Linked DNA regions of Homo sapiens: regions 2 and 3 are each linked to region 1. Evidence: promoter capture Hi-C in 16 types of primary human blood cells and fetal thymus (Javierre and others, 2016). All regions are on one chromosome and are shown on one strand. Each heading gives the region's core, a stretch centred on a gene start or on the middle of the fragment in contact. The rest is flanking DNA. Distances are from core to core; before and after follow the strand shown. Region 1 holds the start of LINC01949 (long intergenic non-protein coding RNA 1949). Region 2 overlaps MIR4280HG (MIR4280 host gene). Region 3 overlaps RASA1 (RAS p21 protein activator 1).

Region 1 (4,428 bases), core at 1,328-3,827:
ATCCAATTCCTATCAAAATACCAATAACATTCTTCACAAAAATAGAAAAAAAACCCTAAAATCCAAACAGCCAAAGCAATCCTAAGCAAAAACAAAAACAAACAAACAAACAAAAACAAAGCTGGCAGCATCACACTACCTGACTTCAAAATATACGACAAAGCTATGGTAACTACATGGCATGATATTGCATAAAAATAGACGCATAGACATAGAGAACCTAGAAATCACATACTTATAAAATTGTGCTTCTGCTCTTTAAGAAGAAATGTGGATAGATATGTTATGGGTAACCAATAGTGACTGCCACAGTGGTTGTATAAATTCCTGCTCCTGTAGAAGTGTGTGTGTTTGTGTTTGTATGTGTTTTACTTGCTAATATAAGGTTTTGTTTTTCAGTCATTTTGGAAGTTTGTTGTATGTTATAGGTAAACTCTGGTTCACATTCACATTTTCATGATAAATGGTTAAGCATTTTTTCCATATATTTATGGCCATCTGAGTCTCCTCTTCTGTGAACTATGTTTATGTTTTTGTTCTCTTTTGATATTTCTTATCTACCTGAGGAGCTCTTTATAGTCTAGATATGAATTATTTTGTAAGATGTATGCATCACAGATATTTTCTCCCAGTCTGTGTGCTATGGACTGAATGTTTGTGTCCCCAAAAAACTCCTATGTTGAAATCCAATCCTCCCACCCCCATCCTGCCTTCCAAAGTGATAGTATTTGGATCTGAGGCCATTGGAAAGTGATTATATCATGAGGGTGAATCCCTCATAAATAGGATTAGTGCTCTTGTAAAAAGTACTCCAGAGAGCCATCTTGTTTTTCTGCCATGTGAGGACATAGTGAGAAGATGGTGGTCTATAAACTAGAAAGTGGGCTCTCTTTGACTGGGACTGCTCAGCCTCCAGAAACTATGAGAAATAAATGTTGTTTAAGCCACTCAGTCTATGGTATTTTTTTATACAGCCAGAATGGACTAAGACACTGTAACTTATCTCTTAATTGTATTTTGGTGTCTTTTACGGAACACATGTTTTATTTAATGTTATAAAAAAAATGCATTTTGTCGTTTATGCCATTGCATCTAGCTTAAGAAAGCTTTCCTTACTGGAAGTCATAAATTCTCCTATCTTTTTCTAAAAGTCTTAAAGTTTTGCTCTTTGTATTTAAGTTTCTTTCATCTGAAGTATATTCCATGTAAATAGAGTGAGGCAGAGATCTTTCTGACTTTTTCCCATGTGACTAACCAATTATCCCGGCATTATTTGTTATTTTTTTATTTTACTCCTGAATTTTAATGTCACACTTGTCATACACCAAGTTATCAAATATGTGAATCTGTTCTGAGTTTTGTTTTGTTGGTCTATTAATTTTATTTCTGACACAATAATACAGTTGTATAATTACAACATTAGAATATCAATATCTGGTAAAGTAATATCAGTGAAACTGATTTATGAATTGCATGTAAAAATTTTAAGGCCACCATGTCAATGTAATTAGCACTGGCCTACAGATAACCTATTGATTTGACCACTTTGCTCTTGTATGTAGAAACTTTGCTTAACTCTCCTATTCCAGTTCTTCAGCTGTACAATTATTGGATTTTCTATAAAAAAAAATATTCAAATAATCAATATTTGATCTTCCCTAATCCATATAACTGGTTATTTCTTTCTTATTTCATTGGTTAGGAACTCCAGAGCAATGATGATTATTGGTGGAGATAATAAGTATTAATGCTTGTTCCTAATGTTAATGGGAATTTTATAACTCTCATACATTATTTCTAGGATAAATCATATTTGATCATAATGCATTTTTTAAAATGCTTGATTCAATTTGTCAACATCTTATGATACTTGCATGTACTCATAAGGAAGATTAACCTATAATTTTTCTTTCTCTTATTTTTCTAGTTCAGCTAACTAGAATATATTAACTTCATGAGAGAAACTACAGAATTTTCCTCTTTTTCTGTATTTTGTAGCATTTTGTGCTAAAGAGATTTTTCTGTGCTTTGAATGTTTGTTGGTAATCCCTGTGTAAAATTTTCTAGACTTACTGTTATTTATTTTGGGTAGGTTTTTGCTTACTAATTCAATTTTTCCAAAGGCTTTCTCCTCAGACATAGATTTACTCTTGAGTCAATTTTGGTAATTTAAATTTTTAGTGATGCCCACCTGCAAAGGGCCAGGTCTGGCATACAGTTTGAAATTTGCTGCCAGAGTCCCATTTTGCAATCCCGAACTTCTGGTGGAGACTGGGGTGTCCATGGCCCACTACCCAGTGGCGAGTAAACTCTTTGCTCCCAGACTGTTGCAAGAAGCTTAAAGGATGGCCTCCAGATCTGGAACAATTATGTTCTCATATTAATAAAAAGATTAACAATATTTTTAAAAATCTGTCATTGAGAAACTGGCCAAGAACCTACCTTGAAGAATATCTTAATAGGAGATGAGATCACTGTAAGAAATGAACTTCTAAATAAATTTGAATAGGAAATTCAGTATTAAGAACAAACCAACAATTCACTCAAGGAACTCTGTAAATCTCTTGAAGAATATTATAAAATGTGGAATATCTCAAAGAAAACTTTCCTTCCCATGTGCCTCAAATAACAGGTCTCAAACTCCTAGCCTCAATCAGTCCTCCCACCTCAGCCTCCCAAAGTGCTGGGATTACAGGTGTGAGCCACTGTCCCCAGCCATAATTTATTTATATTTTATTTCTTTAGCTTTTTCATCTTCTATCCTGTTTCATATAAAATTCAAACTTTTTTGGATAAATTTTTTAATCAAATGCTTCCGTTTAAGTTAGTTTTAGCATTTATTTTTATAAAATTTTAGCATGTAATTTTAAAATAATTTTTTATATTTTAAGATCATACCTGTCCATGTGACTCCAATTCAGCTGTAAAAGATCTGAGAAATATTTGATCTGTTGTCCAGGAAGAAAAGGAGAGGAGGAACATTCTTCTATCATTTCACTCTTACCTGTATATGAAGAATATACTTACCTCCCCCGAAGGAGGACAATCTGAAGTCCCTTCTAGTTAGTGCATTCAGCTCAAAGCCCAAGACATTCAAGAAATGTGTCATCTTCTCCAATACGTGAATGTTTGAATTCTCCTGAAATAAAATCCCATGAACTGAAGAAATATCCTGTCTTTACCACCACTCCCATATACACCTACATGTGAGGGTGCATGCATGCACATGAACACACACACATCTAATATACAAAATGAATCAAGGACAGAAGTAGCTATAATAGGAATCTGATTAGTAAGGGTAGGAATGGAAGGCAAGCAACAGTAACCAGTGCATATAGATCTTAAACAACAGATCGCCAAACACACTGCAGAATGATAAGAGGGTCTGAAATGTAATACATCAAGTGTTAATGTGCCAGACCTAGAAGTGGCAAATGTCACTTGGACATATTCCACTGGCTAAAACTCAGTTACATAGGCCCAGTAAAATGATAAAAAGCCTATGTAAGTTTTGGTTGTATGCCAAAAAAGAAGAGGACAAAATGGATATTGATGTGCACTAACAGTCTGTGTCATCATGGTGACATGATCCTTCTATCATGAAGTAATCAACCTCTTTAGAGAAAAATCATTATTAGACTTAAAGTTGTTTTCTAATATCAATATTACTGTCAGATCTATTTTGGTCCGGTTCCTGGTGTACAGTTTTTCAACCTATGACAGTAAGTTCTCAACGTTGTTGATAGGGTCTTGGAAACTTCAACTTCAAGTGAGATGCCATGTAACAAAACCAGTTTTACTATAGGCTAATTAATATAAACAAGAATTAGTTCCTATGGCATATTTGTATCACAAAAACATCAACAAATTTCTAAGTGAAGACTTGAAACACTTCTAATGTTGAATATTGATATAAATGTAAGCTATACATACATTTAAGAAAAATCAACAAAAATAAGTAAGCAATTTGTCCAATTTTTGGTGAATCAGTGAGTGACAGCCGTCATCCTGGTGGTAGGTTAAATCAAGAAATAAATGTTTGTAAAGTGAAAATTGTCAGGAGTACCTCCTACCAACACACAGTTCAAAAACAAACAATATTCAATAAGGCAGACTCTCTAAGCACTTTCATACAACATTTCTTATTATTTTGCATTTGTATGATTATCAAATACTTTATATTTTATCTTATAATAATTTGTATTCATTTATTCTTTCATTTTCCAACCCACTTACTCCAGTTCAGGTTACAGGAGGCCAAAGCCCATTCAGCAGTTCAGGATACAAGGTGGGAAGCAACCCTGGCCATGACACCATCCCAACACAGGGCACACTCATACATATACCCACACTCACCTTGACTGAGATCGCTGACACATGCCCACCCACCTGAAATACACATCTTCAGGATGTGGGAAGAAACTG
Region 2 (4,428 bases), core at 570-3,069, 130 kb before region 1:
TAATATCATTGTAATTTCTAGGACAGCTATATCAATGCTTTGTATGTAGTAGGTGCTCAATAACTGTCAAATGAATGAACAGGAATTTCATTTATTTATTTCATCAAAATGAATAAATTCCAGTTATTGGTAACTTTCAATAACTAAAAAAGTATATTAGAATATTCGACCGGGCGTGACCGCTCACACCTGTAATCCCAGCACTTTGGGAGGCCGAGGCGGGCAGATCACCTGAGGTCAGGAGGTCAAGACCAGACTAAACAACATAGACAAACCCCATCCCTCCTAAAAATACAAAAAATTAGTCGGGCGTGGTGGTACATGCCTGTAATCCCAGCTACTCAGGAGGTTGTGGTAGGAGAATCGCTTGAACCCCAGAGGCAGAGTTTGCGGTGAGCCAAGATCGCACCATTGTACTCCAGCCTGGGCAACAAGAGTGAAACTCCATCTAAAAAAAAAAAATTCAGCAAGCAGGTTTAAACAGAAAACTGACTTTATTCCCTTAAGGTATAATTGTTAAAAGAGTTGAAATGGTTCCTGAAAAATAGTACATCACTGAGAAAAAGACGTAGAAACATTTAAAAATTAAACCTTTGAGCAGATTTGGAAAAGAAAAAGCAAAACTAAACAAAACAAAAGCCTAACTGGCTTCTTCCGTAATAGGGAAGTATTGGCTATTACTGGGGGAAAACAGTACAACCACCAATCCGATAATCAAGTACTTGTTAAGACCCTTATATAAAATGCTATCATTTTAAACAGTGTGATTTAATGTGGAAGCAAATTAGCATAACATATAGAATAGAAAGGATATTGTCAGTTATCTTCAACATGTCTCTGCAAATTATACCCAAAATTCACTTAATAAGAACTTTTAAGATATGTAAATATGCCAAAGATCTAGTGTTTTCTATGAGATTATATACTTTTTTCTCATTTACCCTACTCTCATGGCCTTTCATACATATAAACATTGTCTAGCATCACGTATTGATCGGCATATAGTTGGGGATAAAGTGACAATCTCTTCTTATTAGCTATGGTATGATCAGTAAGCTAGTTATCCAACAATAATGCTTACTATAGTAATGTATGAATGTCTTGAAACCTGAAATTCTCTAAATGTTTGGTGATCTAAATATTAAAACATTATATTTTTTGAAGAACCAAGCCAAGATTAATGAAAGAATAACCAAATAAATGGGTCTATATGCCAGTCTTGTGCTAGATACTGGAGAATACTATATAGAAACACTATCTAAAAACAATGATGAAAATTTTAATTTTCATAATTTTACATAATTGTATGCTAAAATTATTTTTTTAACTCACAAGAGAGAAATATTCCACCAAATCTAGTCAAATATCTGCTTATCTGAGGAAATAAAAAGAGTTCATTGTATCCAGATTTAGGATAAATCTGTTACTGCAAGCAGAGGCATCTGTTGTTACTAGCATTGTGTGTGTGTATGTGTGAATATGAAGTGAATATGAATTTTACTTTCATAAGCTTTTTTTTTTCATCTAATTTCCAAATTCACAGTTGTGGTGAGATTTAAAGGGAATGAGTTCTCCCAAAACTCTAAAGAATGTAGCATTTAACTAAAAAGAACTGTAAATGCTGAGAAACAATGTGCTTCTGTGCTTATTCAGCCCAGTAACTCTGAGTTTTAACACAGTAATATAGCAGTCTTATATTTATGAGAAACCGAAGACCACTACAACTCTTTGAGGGCAGGAATATACCAAGTAATTCTGAAGCATCTGCAGGCATACCAGGATGAAATGGAGTCAGGAATCAAAAAAGCAGGAAATATATTTTTTCCCTTAAAATTAAATATACCCAAAGGAAGTGGCTGCCGTGATGGCAGATTATCGCGGTTGACGTCCAAACATTTAACCTGGACTTAGTTTCCCTCATTGTCAGTATAAGGATTTGCACACACACACTACAAGGTTGCATCTATATAGCTAAGTCTTTGGCAGAGTAGTCAGGAGTGTTGATTCTGGAGGTACTCAGGACCAGGTTCCATCCTGGCTCCACCACTTTCCAGCTATGGGAACCTGAGTAGGTGGTTCACCTTTGCAAATGTGGTCACTTTCTTGAAATGGTGAGGGGAGTGGAAGATGAAGCTTATCTGCCCACTACTGAGGGTTTTTTCAAGGTCCAGAGATCCCCTGTACTGGCCTCTCTCCATGTTCTACTCACTCTACTCCACCTCTTGGGATATATTTCTCTGATTAGTAAATTTTGAAAGAATAACTGTTCATACTCAACTCCAAGAAGCAAGCATGTGCATAGAAATCAGAGAACAAAGATATGTTCTGCACTTCCATGTCCTAAATCTTACCTAGGGAGGCTGTCCCAGTTCAGCATTGTCATAATTGGTGGGTAGGACTTAAAGCCACATCTTCTAATATGTCCTCTATTTTTTTTTTTTTGGAAAAAAAATCTACTCAGGAGGCTGAGGTGGGAGGATTGCTTGAACCGAGGAGTTTGAGGCTGCAGTGTGCCGTGATTGCACCACTGCACTCCAGCCTCGAACTCCTGGGCTCAAACGATCCTCCGACCTCAGCCTCCTGAGTAACTGGGACTACAGGCAGGCACCACCATGCCCAGCTGATTTGTTTATACAAAAAATTAATATCCCCACATTACTTATTCCTCAAAGTCCATGTTTCTCATGTAGTGGTGGTATTCAGACCACCGGCATTAGAATCTCCAAAAGCCCTTATAACAAATAAAGATTCCCAAATTCACTCAAACTAATGAATCAAAATCTGTAGGAATGTAGCTCAGGACTCCGTATTTTTAACAAAGACATCATGTGATTCTTAAGATTCATAAAGTTTGTTGTATTTTAACACATTGGAGTCTAGTGTAAGATGCCAATATAAAATGGAAGAGGAAACATGTTAACTCAGTTATTATTATCTGCTAGCAATTCAATTTGTTGAATTACACTGAATTGTACTTACTGTCAGATTATTGAGATTTATTTTTCTTTTTTGTATCTCAGTTCTGTTATCCCGTATTTTAATATAAAGTAGTTGCTGGTAAGATATAACTTTAAAGAAAAAAATATAGGAAAATCTACTTCCAGAACTTCTCTGTGTATGTGGAAACAAGAAGCAGTTATTCCAATGTGCCTTTTAGTTACCAGATGTAAGGTGAATATGCACCCCCTGTCATGGACACTAGCATAACCGAGCCTTTTTTAACTTTGAGTAGTTCAACGTAAGGATAAAAATCCTACCTCCTGATCATCAAGGGTCTTCGGATGAAACAAAGTGTCTATAGACTTTTGAGAAAAAACTGATTCTGTCATATACATGCGCAAAACAAAACAAAGTGGGCCTGACGAAGATTTCCCAGCCCAGTAATTCACAAAGGGTGCTCCCCAGACCAGCCATATCAGCATCATCTGGGGACTTGTTAGAAAGGAAAATTCATGAGCCCACCCCAATCCAACTGTATAAGTCTGCTAAGGTTGCCATAACAAAATACAACAGACTGGCTGGCTTAAACAATATAAATTTATTGTCTCACAATTATGGAAGCTAAAAGCCCAAGATCAAGTGTCAGCAAATTCGACTTCTCCTTGGCTTGCAGATGATGAGTCTCTGCCCTGCTGTGTCCTCCCATGGCCTTTGCCCTGTGTGCATGTATCTAGTGGTGTCTCTTCCTCTTCTTATAAGGACATCAGTTATGTAGGATTAGGGCACCACCCTTGTAACCTCATTTAACCTTACTCTTTAAAGGCCCTATCTCCAAATACATTCTAAGGCACCGGGGGTTAGAACTTCAACATATATATGTGGGTGGCACAGTTCAGTTCATAGCAACTATGAGTAAGAAACTCAGAGGTTGGAGCCCAGCAACCTGTGTTTAATACGTCCTTCAGGTGATTTTAATAGGAAGGTAAAGTTTGAGAATTGTGCTGCCTAGTGAGGACCTCAACTCACCGCAATGAAAGGGTAGTCTGAGCTGAAGTGATAGGATTATTGTAAGGATCTATAGACTTTTGAGAAAAAACTGATTATGTCATATACATGCACAAAAAAATTAGTCTAGAAGCCCTCAGGACCATCATTGTTTTGGCAAACTTGTGAAATAAAGGGAGTTCTAACCAGAAAGTCTAAGTGTGAAGCTTGGCCCCTAGGCAAGGATCTGGCCACTAAGAGCACAACTGCAAGCATCCATCAACTACTAGTGTCTGCCAGAAGCAAATGGATTAAATTCTCCACTATTCTCCCCAGCTGGCCTTGGGAAGTGGACTGAACCTTTTGGACTGAGTGAATTACTCCACATGGATTCTTAGATAATTCTGGAAATGGTGGGATCTCAAAAGAGAACTGATGCTATATTTTAACACCTTGGAGTCTATCTTAAAATTCAAATATAAAATGAAAGAGGTAATACATTGA
Region 3 (4,428 bases), core at 1,194-3,693, 130 kb after region 1:
GGTTGGAGACCAGCCTGGGCCTACATGGCAAACCCCGTCTCTTTAAAAAATTAAAAAATTAGCCAGGTGTGGTGATGCACACCTGTGGTCCTACCTACTCAGGAGAGTGAGGTATGAGGATTGTCTGAGCCCAGGCTCACAACTGCCAGGATGTTGCAGTGAGCTGACTGTACCACTACACCCATGGCAGAGTGAGGCCCGGTCTCAAACAAAACTAAACCAAAAACAACAACAAAAATTTTTTTTTCAAAGTATGCTACTTTATTATTAACTATTTTTTTTAAAGTGCCTTCCTGTGAAATAGAGAAGCACTTAGTGAGAAAGACTGAATGCCAAGGCAAATAGCATTAACAAAGTACATTTCAAGGAAATGAGAAGACATCTGTACCATATAATAGGACAAGTAGAAAAATAGGTTGATAAATTATGTATTACCATAGGATGCAAATACCAGAGGACAAAAGGGGAAATTATAAATGAATGTTAATATCTTTTTCTTTATTATCAAATTAATGCCAGGCATTGAACATTTCCTGCTTTGTGTACACATAGAACCTGATATGCTGACCTTTAGCATTTAGAAGAAGACTAATGTGAAAGTTAACAGCCACCTTGTGCAGTAGGTGATTAGTGCGCATGCTCAGCCTGATGCTGAACGAATGTTGGATGGCAATGCTGTTTTCTTGCATGGCTTTAGTTGCACAGCTGTGCAATTTTTCCAGATTATTTTCAATATTAAGAGATCTCTAAGCACTCCATTTCCTTGTATTAAACTTCTAACTTTTAATACTGCATTACTTAGAAAGATGTCTTAGTGACACAAAGTTATTCTAGTGACTATCCATGTGGTAATTAATTTTTACACCATCTTTTCATAGCTGGATCTCACTGTGGTATTTATTGCTTTACATTTATTTATGAAAATGTTTTGCTGGATATTAAATTCAAGATTGGCAGTTATTTTGCCATTTTAAAGATGGTTTTCTGCCTTCCAACATTTTCGTTGTCATTCAAATTGTTTCTGTTTTAGAGGTAATGTATCTTTGTCTTTTCTCTTAGAGGTAATGTATCTCACACAACTTTCTCTGGATGCTTTGAGATTTTTCCTTATATTTTTAGTGGGAAAACTAAAATGTACCAACTATAAATTAAAAAAAAAATTATCCTTAGGTTTGTAGTGCTTCATCAATCTGAGACCTGATGTTCTTTGTCAGTTTTAGAAAACTCTTGGTTAGTATCTGTTTAAATGTTTAGTATCTAATTTAAACAGTTGTTCTGCCACATTCCTTTTTCTTCTTGGAGTCTGGTTAAAAAAAAAGTTGCACTATTTCCCATGCTGTTTTCTGTTTTTCATCCTTTTTCCTCTGTACCAACCTATATATTTTCTTCTGATCTTTCAGTTCACTAATCTTCCATTCTGCAGTTAAATCCACTTTTTCAGGACTTCATTTTATTACATTTTTTTCAATTTAGAATTTCCATTTTTTTAAAGATACAGTTTCTGGCAAAATTCTTGTTACCTATTTTCTTAAACATTTTAATTATAATTACTTGAAAGTCTTGTCTGTCTTCAGTATCTGCATTATATGTATGTCTTTCTGGTTTTTCATCTTAACTTTTAGCCATTTAATCCTGATGCCTGTAGTGTCTACTTAGTTTGACTAAGTGGTAGACATTGTACATGAAAAACTATGGAAACTAATGTTATTGCGTCCAGAAAGAATTGTTCTTACGGATGGTATAGGGTTAGTACATCTTGTAAAGGCTGTTCTATTTCTGGTTTGCCCTTATCATGAAGGCACAGCCCTTCAGGGGTCTCAATGGAAAGCCTGAAATTCATTCTTTTTTCTCCTAGCACTATCAAACTACTGGATTTGTAGTTAATTTTTTAGCCTTTTAGGAACTATTTTCTGCTTAGCGTCTCAGCTACACAGCCAGCTTAGGAACTGGCAACTGCCTTGAACGGAAAAGATGTGGAGAATGTCGGGTTAATTATAGTATGATCTTGGCTCCTCAAATCTTAGCTGCTTTGGTTGTTCTCCAGTGCTTTCAAACAGTTGTTTTTCTGTTTTGTATTACTATTTTAAGTTTTATCCAACTAGGGTGGTTAGTCTGATACAGGCAACATTTAGGATTAGAAGTTTCCAATTCCTATTTTCCATGATTACTTTTAAGACATTCTCAAAGCATGAAAATATAGTCTTTATCTTTAATAAGTGTTAAGCTTGTCCTCTGTGTATTTTTGCTATGGCCTCCTAACATTAGCATGATATAAAATCTTTAAAGCAGGAAACAGAAGTAACATTTATTGAGTTCCAAAAACATGCAGGCCCTTAATAAAGATTTTACCAATATTTTCAAGTCTAGTTGGAAAGATAGCACATTTCCAAAATGATATAAATTATTACCTAATATTGTACTTACATATCAAATGATTTGAAATAATACTAAAGGAAGACAAGAACATTTGTTGTACACAACTGTTCACTTAAACTCTAGAACAAGCATATGTATGAAGAGATGATGTTTCCATTTTAACAGGTGAAGAAAAATGATCAGTTTAGAAAAATTTGAAAATACAGAATCACCTACAATCTCCTTAGAGATAATTACTTAGAACATTTTTGGTCTAAGAACATTTCTAGTCTTTTTCCAGTGCATATAAAGCTTTTCAAATTAGCTGTGTGCAGTTCTAGCAGTTCAGCTTCAATCTGTTTGTAACTTTATTTCTAATGTATTTTACAATTAATTGAAATTTCTTTAGTTTACACTTTGAAATACTGATAACATTTTAATAGTGCTGACATAAAGTTTTCTAAAATATATATAGCTGACTTTTTTTTAGTAATGATCTGGTACAATGGAGTATTATTTCTTTAAGAATTATAATTTTATGTTAATTATTTATTGTGAGTGTTTTGGAAGCTGGTATAAATATTTTGCTACTTTTTATTAAGCTTCCTAATAATTTTTGTTTTTATTTTAAAGGCCAAACTGTTTTCAGATAGTAGTTCAGCACTTTAGTGAAGAACATTACATCTTTTACTTTGCAGGAGAAACTCCAGAACAAGCAGAGGTAAGATTACTGTTTCTCAAACTACAGTATACTTTTATGTTAGCCCATGTTTTCTTATTAACTGGAATAGAAAATGATCGCATTCAAGATAAAGTGACAGAACGCCTGAAATCTAATCATCTCTTATTTTAAGGAATGAGATTTCATATGTAAAAAGTTTTCTGAAAGAAATGCAAAAACAAACACAGTGAAGGGTTATTAGGAATGAAAACTCCATTTTAAATTGACCTTTAAATACTCTATGATGTTGAGGCCAACTGAGAATGCTCATTTAAAATCCTCTCTGCATAAAGGTTATAGGTCATCTCAGTATAATCCAAAGGTAAGCCAGTTAACCAGTTAGTTTTGCTAACAAGCATTATTCTTCACTGGTTGAACTCCATGTCTGAAAATAAAAGTCAGTCAACACAAGGAAAGATATTTTAGGAATCTATTCTCTAAGCCAAGTCGAGATATAATGTCTACTTTAGATTAGCTATTAATCCATGTGCAGTGTCCTTCTTATAGCGTCTATTAAGTAATTGTGTGAAGAAATAATATTTTTTAAAAAACACTCTTTAAAAAATATTTTGCAACAAAGGGAGAACCCACCTCTATAACAAAAGTAAAAAATTAGCTAGGTGTTCTGGCTTATGCCTGTAGTCCCAGCCACTGGGTAGAATGAGGCAGGAAGATTGCATTAGCACAGGAGTTTGAGTTACAGTGAGTAAGATCGAGACACTGTAAGCCAGCCTAGGCAACAAACTGAGACACTGTCTCTTAAAAAATTTTTTTGCTTTCTTTGAACCCTAATATTTCTGGAGTATATGGTTGTATTTTATACAAATACAGCTAAATTTCTGCTTATATTCTAACGAAGGAACTTAAAGGTGGTTAAGAAGTGAAAGTGGCTTTGTTGGAAATATAATTTGCCAACCCTAGATATGAGGAAGATGCTCTTAAAACTAGATCCTAGCGTGAGACTCACAGAATAAACCTGAATGAGCTTACAACTGAACGTCATATTTCACATCTTTATCAAATATCTCATTTAATGCTCATTTCACATGTAATGCACATAAAATTTTACGGCTATGTATCCCTAATTTTTAGATGAGAAAGGTAGTGCTCAAAACATTTTGGTAACTTACATGATTTTTTTAAATGTTAGAAATTGAGTTAGAAATTTAAACTTCAGTATCCTATTTTCTAAGTATTTTACCATGGTCCCTCTTTCTGAATAAAATGTCACATACCATAATGACATTTCAGCATGTTTTGCAAGCCTAACATAGAACATTTTTTAATGTATTTATACATAATATTTCTGTATTTCCATAAATGGTATTTCCAGTTTTTGTTGATTTATTGGG

The links. The method cuts DNA at HindIII sites, captures the fragments that hold promoters and counts their contacts. A CHiCAGO score of 5 or more calls a contact.
Region 2: a contact is called between a fragment that was not itself captured here and the fragment with the promoter of LINC01949 in region 1, in 4 of 17 cell types (M0 macrophages, M1 macrophages, M2 macrophages and 1 more). The highest score is 20.7, in M0 macrophages.
Region 3: a contact is called between a fragment that was not itself captured here and the fragment with the promoter of LINC01949 in region 1, in 2 of 17 cell types (activated CD4 T cells and M0 macrophages). The highest score is 6.6, in activated CD4 T cells.

What each region holds. Positions count from the first base shown.
Region 1 is chr5:87,236,624-87,241,051 of GRCh38, forward strand. LINC01949 (long intergenic non-protein coding RNA 1949) reads right to left here and starts at 2,578. Exons shown (of 3, transcript NR_130914.1): 1 at 2,443-2,578; 2 at 2,192-2,358. The region is part of intron 2 of LOC101929380 (a long non-coding RNA gene); the gene reads left to right. The HindIII fragment of the contact is 4,009 bases long and covers 2,336-4,428 here.
Region 2 is chr5:87,106,268-87,110,695 of GRCh38, forward strand. The region is part of intron 1 of MIR4280HG (MIR4280 host gene); the gene reads right to left. Among named protein-coding and RNA genes, the nearest start is that of MIR4280, 6.5 kb to the right of the region's middle. The HindIII fragment of the contact is 623 bases long and covers 1,509-2,131 here.
Region 3 is chr5:87,366,825-87,371,252 of GRCh38, forward strand. It overlaps RASA1 (RAS p21 protein activator 1), which reads left to right. Exons shown (of 25, transcript NM_002890.3): 12 at 2,989-3,076. It also overlaps a transcript of CCNH not described here. Among named protein-coding and RNA genes, the nearest start is that of CCNH, 44 kb to the right of the region's middle. The HindIII fragment of the contact is 443 bases long and covers 2,223-2,665 here.